3 separate regions of the Homo sapiens genome follow, and regions 2 and 3 are each linked to region 1. The links are contacts of gene promoters, found by promoter capture Hi-C in human tissues and cell types (Jung and others, 2019). All regions are on one chromosome and are shown on one strand. The core of a region is centred on a gene start or on the middle of the fragment in contact, and the rest is flanking DNA. Distances in the headings are between cores, read along the strand shown.

The links. Contacts are between HindIII fragments. The study calls those that stand out against the background at their distance.
Region 2: a contact is called between a fragment that was not itself captured here and the fragment with the promoter of B3GNT4 in region 1, in 4 of the 25 tissues and cell types used here (IMR-90 fibroblasts, dorsolateral prefrontal cortex, lymphoblastoid cells and 1 more).
Region 3: a fragment that was not itself captured here is called in contact with the fragment with the promoter of B3GNT4 in region 1 in 11 of the 25 tissues and cell types used here (IMR-90 fibroblasts, aorta, dorsolateral prefrontal cortex and 8 more).

What each region holds. Positions count from the first base shown.
Region 1 is chr12:122,202,120-122,205,263 of GRCh38, forward strand. B3GNT4 (UDP-GlcNAc:betaGal beta-1,3-N-acetylglucosaminyltransferase 4) reads left to right here and starts at 1,590. Exons shown (of 3, transcript NM_030765.4): 1 at 1,590-1,682; 2 at 2,403-2,565. The coding sequence starts at 2,500. It overlaps LRRC43 (leucine rich repeat containing 43), which reads left to right. Exons shown (of 12, transcript NM_001098519.2): 12 at 1,196-1,352. The coding sequence ends at 1,323. RefSeq lists a silencer at 1,275-1,904. The HindIII fragment of the contact is 16,495 bases long and covers 1-3,144 here.
Region 2 is chr12:122,282,274-122,285,850 of GRCh38, forward strand. The region is part of intron 21 of CLIP1 (CAP-Gly domain containing linker protein 1); the gene reads right to left. Among named protein-coding and RNA genes, the nearest start is that of VPS33A, 18 kb to the left of the region's middle. RefSeq lists a silencer at 136-336. The HindIII fragment of the contact is 5,409 bases long and covers 1-3,577 here.
Region 3 is chr12:122,323,757-122,327,162 of GRCh38, forward strand. All of the region lies in intron 17 of CLIP1 (CAP-Gly domain containing linker protein 1), which reads right to left. It also overlaps the pseudogene CCDC150P1. Among named protein-coding and RNA genes, the nearest start is that of VPS33A, 59 kb to the left of the region's middle. The HindIII fragment of the contact is 8,257 bases long and covers 1-3,406 here.

The DNA of each region.
Region 1 (3,144 bases), core at 340-2,839:
CATATGCTGCTGGACTTCAAAACCCATGCCTATATGAACATGTGATTTGTGATACTTATCTGTGGGTTAAGATGGCCTTAAAAAGGTTTTTTTTTTTTTAATCTCTTTAATGTTTGGCTTAATTGAAGACAGCTGGATTCTTACAGCTACTTCTGCAGTCAACTGCTTGCAATATGTTGCTGTAATTGACGTGCACAAAGAAAATCCAACCTCAGGCCCATAATTGGAAAAGAGGGAGTATTTTAATAGACCTTAAAATAATATAATTTCTTTAATATTACACCAAATTTGACAAGTGGTAATTTCTTAAAGGTTGTTACAATGTGAAAACAATCTATATTGAATTTTTCATAATCAGATTAAAATTCATTAATCTAGTTTGCATTTTGAACGGATATTTTACCATGCAGTTTGTAACATGCATGAGTTACTTGTAAACTACAGGTTAACAGACTTATGCAGATATTCCAACAGTTGACACCTGTCACTATACATTTTCCAAAGATCACGTTCTTTACTATCACCACCCACATCATTAGAAAGGTCTTTGCGTATTGGAAAATTGGTAAATTCATGGTGGCAGATACAATGTTGTCTCATTTTTAGGGCAAATGTTATACATTTATTGAAATGCTTTCAGTTGTTTCCCCTGAAGTGCTATAATTACTTCATTTTTAAGAAAATATCTGCAGCTGGGCTCGGTAGTGTACGCCTGTGATCCTAGCACGTTGGGAGGCCTAGGCAGGCGGATCACTTGAGGTCAGGAGTTCGAGACCAGGCTGGCCAACATGGTGAAACCCCGTCTCTACTAAAACTACAAAAAATAGCCGGTCGTGGTGACAGGCGCCTGTAATCCCAGCTACTTGGAGGCTGACGCAGGAGAATCGCTTGAACCTGGGAGGCGGAGGTTGCAGTGAGCCGGGATCATGCCACCGCACTCCAGCCTGGGCGACGGAGCACGACACTGTCTCAAAGCAAAAAGCAGCCAGTCTTGCAACTCAAACAGCTGCGATTTATTAAATGATCTAATTAAATACAATTTAATTTTATTTCTTATTACTGTTAACACCCGAGGACCAAAACTGTGCTCCCGCTGGGACAGGGTCCAGGGCTTGCATATGGGATGGGTCAGGGCGGCCGAGAACGCCAGCCCATCCGTCTCCCGGGGCTCATGCTCGCACTTAAATTTTCTCAGAAAAGCCGAAAGCCGTGATTCCGATCTACGAAGGCGATTACCACCCTGAGCCCCTGACCGTAGAGGTGCAGATCCAGCTGAACCAGTGCCGCTCGGCGGAGGAGGCTCTGCGCATGTTCGCCGTGTAGGGCGTGGGCAGTAAAGGCTGTTCCCAGCACTCCCGCCTCCGCTTCTGTCCCGCCGCACGCGTCGGGGGGCGGGTGTGGCGCCGGCGTCCTGGGGAGGAGGAGCAGCCTCTGCCCGACCCGGCTCGTGCGGACCCCAGGACCGGGCGCGGGACGCGTGCGTCCAGCCTCCGGCGCTGCGGAGACCCGCGGCTGGGTCCGGGGAGGCCCCAAACCCGCCCCCGCCAGAACCCCGCCCCAAATTCCCACCTCCTCCAGAAGCCCCGCCCACTCCCGAGCCCCGAGAGCTCCGCGCACCTGGGCGCCATCCGCCCTGGCTCCGCTGCACGAGCTCCACGCCCGTACCCCGGCGTCACGCTCAGGTAGGTTGGGGGCCGGGACGCCGCTGCTGTGAGGGAGGCTGGGTCACCGTGCAGGGAGGGGCGTCGCCAGGGCGGCCGTGCCTTTGCACCCCGCGGCCCGCTCCCCGGTCCCCCAGGGTCCCCGCGAGGACGCCGGCCCCGCCCGGGTGCGGCGCGAGTCTGGCCTCGGCGGGCACGGCTCGGGGCCCACGGGCCGCTCGGCTTCGGTTCTCCAGGCTGGGGACAGAGGCTGGAGCCGGGCGCGGTAGACCCCGCCAGCCTGGGCCGCCCGCGCCCGACGCGCAGCGCTGCTGCCAACCCCGGCCCGGGGGTCCCCGCAGAGTGGGTCTCTGCTGCCGTCAGCCCTTCGGAGACTGTCGCGTTGAAAGAATGAACCAGAGTTCGCCCCCTGCCCGCGCCAGGGCGTTTTGGGTCACCGAGTCCTGTGGGGATCCGAGGCGGCTGCCGCCCAAGGCCGAGCGCAGCCTCAGGACCCGCGCCCCACCAGACGGGGTCGTGCGCTCCGCGGCGGGTGGAGAGCCGGGCTCTGGGGTCTCCGCGGCTCGGAGGGCGGCGGGGCGAGGCCGTGCGGCCAGCGCCTGGGGACGCCCGCGGCGGGACAGGGGCCACCCGGGCCGCGGCGCAGCCTGGGCTGAAACCTCCTGGGACGGAACCAAGCCACCTGCTGTGCGCCCTTCTCGGTGAATGGCACCGCCGCCCGCCCGGGCCTCTCGTCCACAGCCCGCGGTGCTCGCACACCTGAGACTCATCTCGCTTCGACCCCGCCGCCGCCGCCGCCCGGCATCCTGAGCACGGAGACAGTCTCCAGCTGCCGTTCATGCTTCCTCCCCAGCCTTCCGCAGCCCACCAGGGAAGGGGCGGTAGGAGTGGCCTTTTACCAAAGGTCAGATTCTTTCACCGCCTCTGCCAGACCCCCTTGTCCCCCACCCCCGCATAGATCTCCAGGGGGCTCAGAAAACTCTGGCCGGTGGCTCACGCCTGTAGTCCCAACGCTTTGGGAGGCCAAGGCGGGAGGATCGCTTGAGGCCAGGAGTTCCAGACCAGCCCAGGCAACAAAAGATACCACATCTCTACAAAAAATAAATTAGCCGGGCCCTGCACGCCTGTAGTCCCAGCTACTGGGGAGGCCGAGGCCGGAGGATCGCTTGAACCCAGGAGTTCCAGGCTGCAGTGAGCTATAATTGTGCCACTGCACTAGAGTCTGGGTGACAGAGACACTGTCTCAAAAAAAACCAACAAAACCCTTAGCTCTTTCACTAGCCGGGCTGGCCTCTTCCTACTGTAAACCTGCTGGGCCCCCGTCTCCCTTCTTTCTCCCCTCTCTCCTGCCCTGGAGCTGCCTGACTCTGCCCACGGCCTGCAGAGACCCCAGGTCTTCACGCAAGGTGCCATTCCTCACTCAGTTCTTGCTCAAACGTCCCTCCATCAAGGAGGGCTTTTTAGCTACCCTTGGCTATGGGAT
Region 2 (3,577 bases), core at 1-2,500, 80 kb after region 1:
CATTAAACCATTGTCTATGCCAACATTACTGACGTCTGAGTCACAAATCGTATTAAGCCATTAGCTGGAATGACTTGGTATTACCAAAAAAAATCAAGAAGGGAAAATAAACATAACATGAAAGAAGGGATAGAGGGAACAGAAATCTTTCTCTCTCCATCTCCCAAGGGAACATTTTACCCAGATTCTTTCCTTACTACTTATATAAGAAACAAATTCCAGTAATGAAGCAAATACCTTAAAGTGTTACTGGGCAAGCTTTAAAAATGCAAGATAACAAGAACCAAATATTAGAACCATGAAGAGAAACGCAAATACAGTAAGGAGACTAAATTTGCACTGAAGTTCTTTGCTGTATATAGATATAAAAAGGAAATATATGTGTGTGTTTGTGTGTGTATATATATATGTATATATATATACTGCTGAGAATATTTTACAAAACAAAAGCAAGACACAGAGGGACAAAGGCAGCCAAAAAATATATACAACAATTTGGTTTACTAAAAATATATGAAATTTATTTATTATAACGTGGATAGACTTTCTTTAGTCTTACCATTAAAGACACACAGATATAGCAAAGGAAGCAAGAGTAGGAAAGGGAAAAGAGAGGGGTGAAATGAGCATTGGTAAGTAGCGCAAGCTCGGAGACAGTCAGACAGTTAGCAACCCACAGTGAGCCGGATGAGCTGAAGTAGCACGGGACCTCCTCAGAATTTGGGGGCTTTATTGTCAAACCAGTTTTTACTCCTAACAGAAATCCTGCACTGGCACTGACAGGATGAATTCTGACTCCAAAATCCATGCCTCGCGCCTTTGGCTTTGGAGCCCCTTCTTTGACACTAAAAAGCCTAGAGAATGGAGCAACCAAACCGGCTCCCAAATCTGCATCAGGCTTCAGAGGCACAGATGAACAAACTCCCCCAGTTCTGGCAATTAGAGCAATGCAAGGCATACCCTGCTTTACCCATTAGACTCTTAGAGCCTGTTTTAAAAGGCTTACCCAACTTGAGAGTTTTTCAAAGAAATGATTACATTTTTATGCTTGGGGAAAAATTTTTTACTACATACTGCTTGCAACTCAATGTTTAAAGTTACAAAAAAACAAAAAACAAAAAGAAAAAAAACCCCACAGCAAATAAAGAAGGATTCCACTAATTCCTTTCTTTTTCTTTCTTTCTTTTCTTTTTTTTTTTTTTTGAGATGGAATCTCGCTCTGTTGCCCAGGCTGGAGTGCAGTGGTGCGATCTCGGCTCACTGTAACCTCCGCCTCCTGAGTTCAAGCAACTCTGCTGCCTCAGACTCCTGAGTAGCTGAGATTCCAGGCACCCGCCACCACACCCAGCTAATTTTTGTATTTTTAGTAGAGATGGGGTTTCACCATGTTGGCCAGGCTGGTCTTGAACTCCTGACCTCAGGTGATCCTCCCAAAGCACTGGGATTACAGGCGTGACCCACCGCACCCAGCCGGATTCTAATTTCTTCATGATAACCAGTTTAATCCTACAGTTGGGAGTAAGTTCTGCACTTGAATATCATGACTATTTGGCCATAGTGATTCTATTACTATCTTAACTATGTACGTTTAATGATCACTTCTGAATTCAAGTGTTGACTAAGCTCTCAGTTCTTGCATGACCAACTACATTTCAAATACTCACAATGTAAGTATTTGCAAGGCTTTTTAAATTAATAGTATATTAAGTTCTTTTTGGTACTCAATGGTTGACACATTTATTTAACCATTACACGCATAGGCCTACATATGAATCCTTTATCAATCTGAGTTTTAGAAGGCAATGAAGGGCCCCAACTATTATCTAAAATCCATTTACATTCAGGTTTCTAAAACAGAAATAACTTTCCATAAGGGTTAATTAACAAACAAACAAAAAACACTTCTACACATGAGAAACTAGGAGTGAAATTTTCACTCCCAGAAAAAGTCATCTTTATCTATAATTTCTGATGAAAATTAAGAGTGATTTTCAAGAGACATCCTCCTAAACATTGAGGACATAAAACAGGAACAGAGAGAAGTAGGAGAGAGAACTTCACGGCCCCAAAATTTGTTTCATCTTTTTTTTTTTTTTGAGATGGAGTTTTGCTCTTGTTGCCCAGGCTGGAGTGCAATGGCGCGATCTCGGCGCACTGCAACCTCTGCATCCCGGGTTGAAGCGATTCTCCTGCCTCAGCCTCCTGAGTAGCTGGGACTACAGATGCCCGCCACCGTGCCCGGCTATTTTTGTATTTTTAGTAGAGACGGGGTTTCACCATGTTGGCCAGGCTGGTCTCAAACTCCTGACCTCAGGTGATCCACCTGCCTCGGCCTCCCAAAGTGTTGGGATTACAGGCATGAGCCACTGCACCTGGTCATGTTCCATCTTTTTAAGCCATGAAAAGCGTCCCATGCCTAACCATATTTTGAAAGGCATGTAATTTACTTAAAGTTACATGATAAGGACTTCATCATTAAGTACATCATCTCTTTTTTAAAAAGATACACATAAATAATAAATAAATAAAAAGCTTAAAAATTCACTCAGAAGAGAACCAGCATAAAAAATCTGATGATCTGAGTCTTTAGCCTACACCTGTCTTTTATTAGTCCTGAGTCCTTGGCCAACTTGCCTAACTTTTTGAGCTTTAGTTTCATCATTTTATGTATTTATTTTATTTTAGAGACAGGGTCTCACTATGTTGCCCAGGCTAGAGTACAGCAGCTCTTCTCAGGCATGATCAGAGTGCACTACAGCACTGAATACCTGGGCTCAAGTGATCCTCTCACCTCAGCCTCCTGAGTAGCTGGGACTACAGGCATGTGCCACCATGTCCAGCTAATTTCATCATTTAAAAATGCAAGCTCCACCATTATATTTCACTGGGTTGTTTTGAGATTAGATCAATTTGTGAATTATGACGTGCTACATAAATGTAGGGAGATACCAGTCCTTTTTTTTTTTTTTTTTGAGACGGAGTCTTGCTCTGTCACCAGGCTGGAGTGCAGTGGCACGATCTCGGCTCACTACAACCTCCACCTCCCGGGTTCAGGCAATTCTCCCGCTTCAGCCTCCTGAGTAGCTAGGACTGCAGGCACATGCCACCATGCCCAGCTAATTTTTGTATTTTTAGTAGAGACGGGGTTTCACCTTTCACCATGTTAGCCAGGATGGTCTCAATCTCTTGACTTTGTGATCCACCCACCTCGGCCTCCCAAAGTGCTGGGATTACAGGTGTAAGCCACGGTGCCCGGCCTAATTTTTGTATTGCCAGGCTGGTCTTGAACTTCTGACCTCAAGTGATCCACCTGCCTTGGCCTCCCAAAGTGCTGGGATTACAGGCGTGAGCCACCGCACCCGACCTTTTTTTTTTTTTTTTTAAATGGAGACATAGTCTCACTATGTTGCCCAGGCTGGTCTTGAACTCTTGTGCTCAACTGATCCTCCCTTTTTGGCCTCCCAAAGTGCTGGGGTTACAGGCATGAACCACCGTGCCAGGCCACAGCTCCCTTGCCAGAATGCTGCAGGAACAAGCCCTATTTATTTTTTCACGTGTCCTTGATAACTCCTTACAT
Region 3 (3,406 bases), core at 329-2,828, 120 kb after region 1:
GATCTTCAGTCTCCTGTACCAAAGCTTTCTGATCTTTGACTAGCTCCTCATAAGACCTTTGAAGCTTCTGAATGATGTCATCCTTATCTTTGGCCAAGATGAAGTTTTCGGTAATAAGTTTCTTGATCTGGTCCTCCAGGTGATCTTTTTCTTCCTGGTCCTTCTCAGTCTTAGCAATCAAAGTATCTTTGCTGAGCTGGAGCTCTTCAATGAGTGCCTGCATGCTCACCTTGGAAGCTTGCAAAGAGTCATTTTCCACATTTATCTTCAAGAGTTCTTCCTGTACAACATTGATTTCTTTAAGCAATTTCTCTCTCTCAACAGCCAAAGCTTCTTTATTGAGATGTTCCTGCTCATAATACTTTTCGGCATCTTGCTTTTCTTCTAAGAATTTCTCCTTTTCTAAATTAAGAGTTTCATTCACTGACCACAGTTTCTGCTGGTCTCCCTGAAGTAAAGCTATTTTGGCCTCCAATTCTACAAGCTTGGATAAAAGTGAACCGTTTTCTAACTTTAAATCATTTCCCTCCTGAGAAAGAAGCTGCTTCTCTGATTTCAGACCCCTCAGCTCTTCTGACATTAGTTCAATTTCTTTTTTGGCTGATGTTAACAAATAAGTTAGCGACTACAGAAACAAAAGATGGAAAGAATGGAAACAAAAATGAAATCAAGCAGACAAATGCAAGCCCAAATAACTTAATGTAACCTAAATGATAAAAACTTTACAATTTCTACAATAAACTTTATAGAAACTATCTGAATAACAAGGGAAAGAAACTAAACAGAGCCCATAAAAAGGTAAGTCAAAAGTGTAGTTTTGCAAAGTGCTTCTGTATCTGTTAGCTTATTTTATCTTTGAAACAACTTGTGAAATTATTCCCAGTAGCTACCTAGAAGATAAAAATAGTAGCTTGATTTTAATATCAGGGCATAAGATTCTTTCCTGCCATTCCAATTATCAAATTACTTTGAAAGCAGAAAGGATTCATAGAACAATTTTTAAAAATACAATTAAAAGAAGTACAAAAACTCAGTATATTTTAATGAAAAAAGGAAGGGGCATAACAAGGGAAAATAAACTACTGCCTTCCAAACTCACCACAGGACCTTACTTAAGGGTAGCTGAGGGGCTGAGAGTGATTTAGTCCCAATATCACATATAACTTAAAAACTACAGCCTAATTTCTAGGCTTTGCTGACTAAAAGGAATAGTTTTTTTTTTTTATTTACTGAATTATAAGATAATTTGACCACAGTGTCTATACCAGTGCTATCCAGAACTTTCTGCAATGATATAATTTTTTTTTTTTTTTTTTGAGACTGAGTCTCGCTCTATCTATTGCCCAGGCTGGAGTGCAATGGTGCGATCTTGGCTCACTGCAACCTCCGCCTCTGGGTTCAAGCTATTCTCATGCCTCAGCCTCCCAAGTAGCTGGGATTACAAGGCTCCGCCACCGTGCCCGGCTAATTTTTGTATTTTTAGTAGAGACGGGGTTTCACCATGTTGGCCAGGCTGGTCTCAAACTCCTGACCCCAAGTGATCCACCCACCTAGGCCTCCCGAAGTGCTGGGATTACAGGCATGAGCCACCACGCCCAGCTGATATAAATGTTCTTATTTGCACTCCCATCATGGTGACCATATGACTACTGAGCACCTGAAATGTGGTGAGTGCAACTGAGGAGCTAAATTTTTAATTAAAATGTAACAAATTTAAATTTATTTATTTATTTATTTATTTTGGAGGCAGAGTCTCACTCTGTGGCCCAGGCTGGAGGGAAGTGGCGCGATCTCGGCTCACTGCAACCTCTGCCTCCCAGTTTCAAGCGATCCTCTTTTAAGCATATACAAAAATAGAGAAAATAATGTAGACCGCATATATTCCCATATTAAGGTTTTTATTTTTATTTATTTTTTGAGACAGTCTCACTCTGTCACCCAGGCCAGAGTGCAGTGGCACCATCTCAGCTCACTGCAGCCTCCGCCTCCCAGGCTCAAAGGATTCTCCTGCCTCAGCCTCCTGAGTAGCTGGGACTACAGGTGTGTGCCACCACACCCAATTAATTTTTTGTATTTGTAGTAGAGACGGTCTCACGATGTTGTCCAGGGTGGTCTCAAACTCCTGTGCTCAGGCAATCTGCCCACCTTGGCCTCCCAAAGTGCTAGGATTACAGGCGTGAGCCACCAGAACTGGCTACAAATTTACATTTGAATGGCCTCACATGGCTGGTGGCTACTACATTAGGCAGCACAGCTATAGCCCACTGGCTCTTAAAAGTAGGGAATAGGAGGCTTCATGGGTTCCAGGAACCTTGTTGAGTGCACACGTAAACTTTCCTGAAAAAATATCTGTAGATTTCATTAGATTATTCCAAAGAGTCTGGGACTGATTACGATCCACTGAAATTAGATACTAGACACGTTTGGAGGGGAACAGTCCTGGCATTTTTAACTCAATGACTCTTGCACAAAACCAACCAACAAAATCAGTGAGACTGGCCAGGAATGGTGGCTCATGCCTGCAATCCCAGCACCTTGTGAGACTGGCCAGGAATGGTGGCTCACGCCTGCAACCCCAGCGCCTTGTGAGACTGGCCAGGAATGGTGGCTCACGCCTGCAACCCCAGCGCCTTGTGAGACTGGCCAGGAACGATGAATCACGCCTGCAATCCCAGCACCTTGGGAAGCTGAAGCAGGTGGATCGCTTGCATCCAGGGGTTCGAGACCAGCCTGAGCAACATAGCGAGACTCTGTCTCTACAAAAAATAAAAAATTAGCCAGGTGTAGTGGCACGTGCTTTTAGTCTCAGCTACTTGGGAAGCTGAGGCAAGGGGATCACTTGAGCCCGAGAGGTTGAGGCTGCAGTGAGCCATGACTGTGCCGCTGCACTCAGCCTGGGTGACAGAGTGAGACCTTGTCTCAAAAAAACAAACAACAACCGAGGAGACCTTACATCAGCTTCTGCGATGCTGTGGTTTGCTCAGGCTGAAACATTTTAAAGGAAATACAAAAAAAAAACTGAAGTCTGCACAGATAAAGGAAACCACAAAGACAAAAGATCTGGGAATTGTATCTAGTGTTAAATGGCTCATAAAACTGGAGGTATTTCACAGAAAGAAGAGAAATCCTCAACTATCAGCATGTAGAAGAGGGAGAATATGGGCCTCCCAGATGACATGCACGGCACACACATACCATGTCATGTCCACTTAGTTAGCAAGAGGCTTTTCATGAGATTGGTTTCAAGTCCTATATATGCTCTTTTATCATTTCTTTCTACTAAACTCCTATAAACACATTAAAAATAAAGAAAGGTGAATATTTACTTTCCTTTGAGCAATAGAAGGTTAAACAGTGGGCAAGGTTGAACTTCGTGAAGTTACCAGAGTCACAAAATGTACTGGGC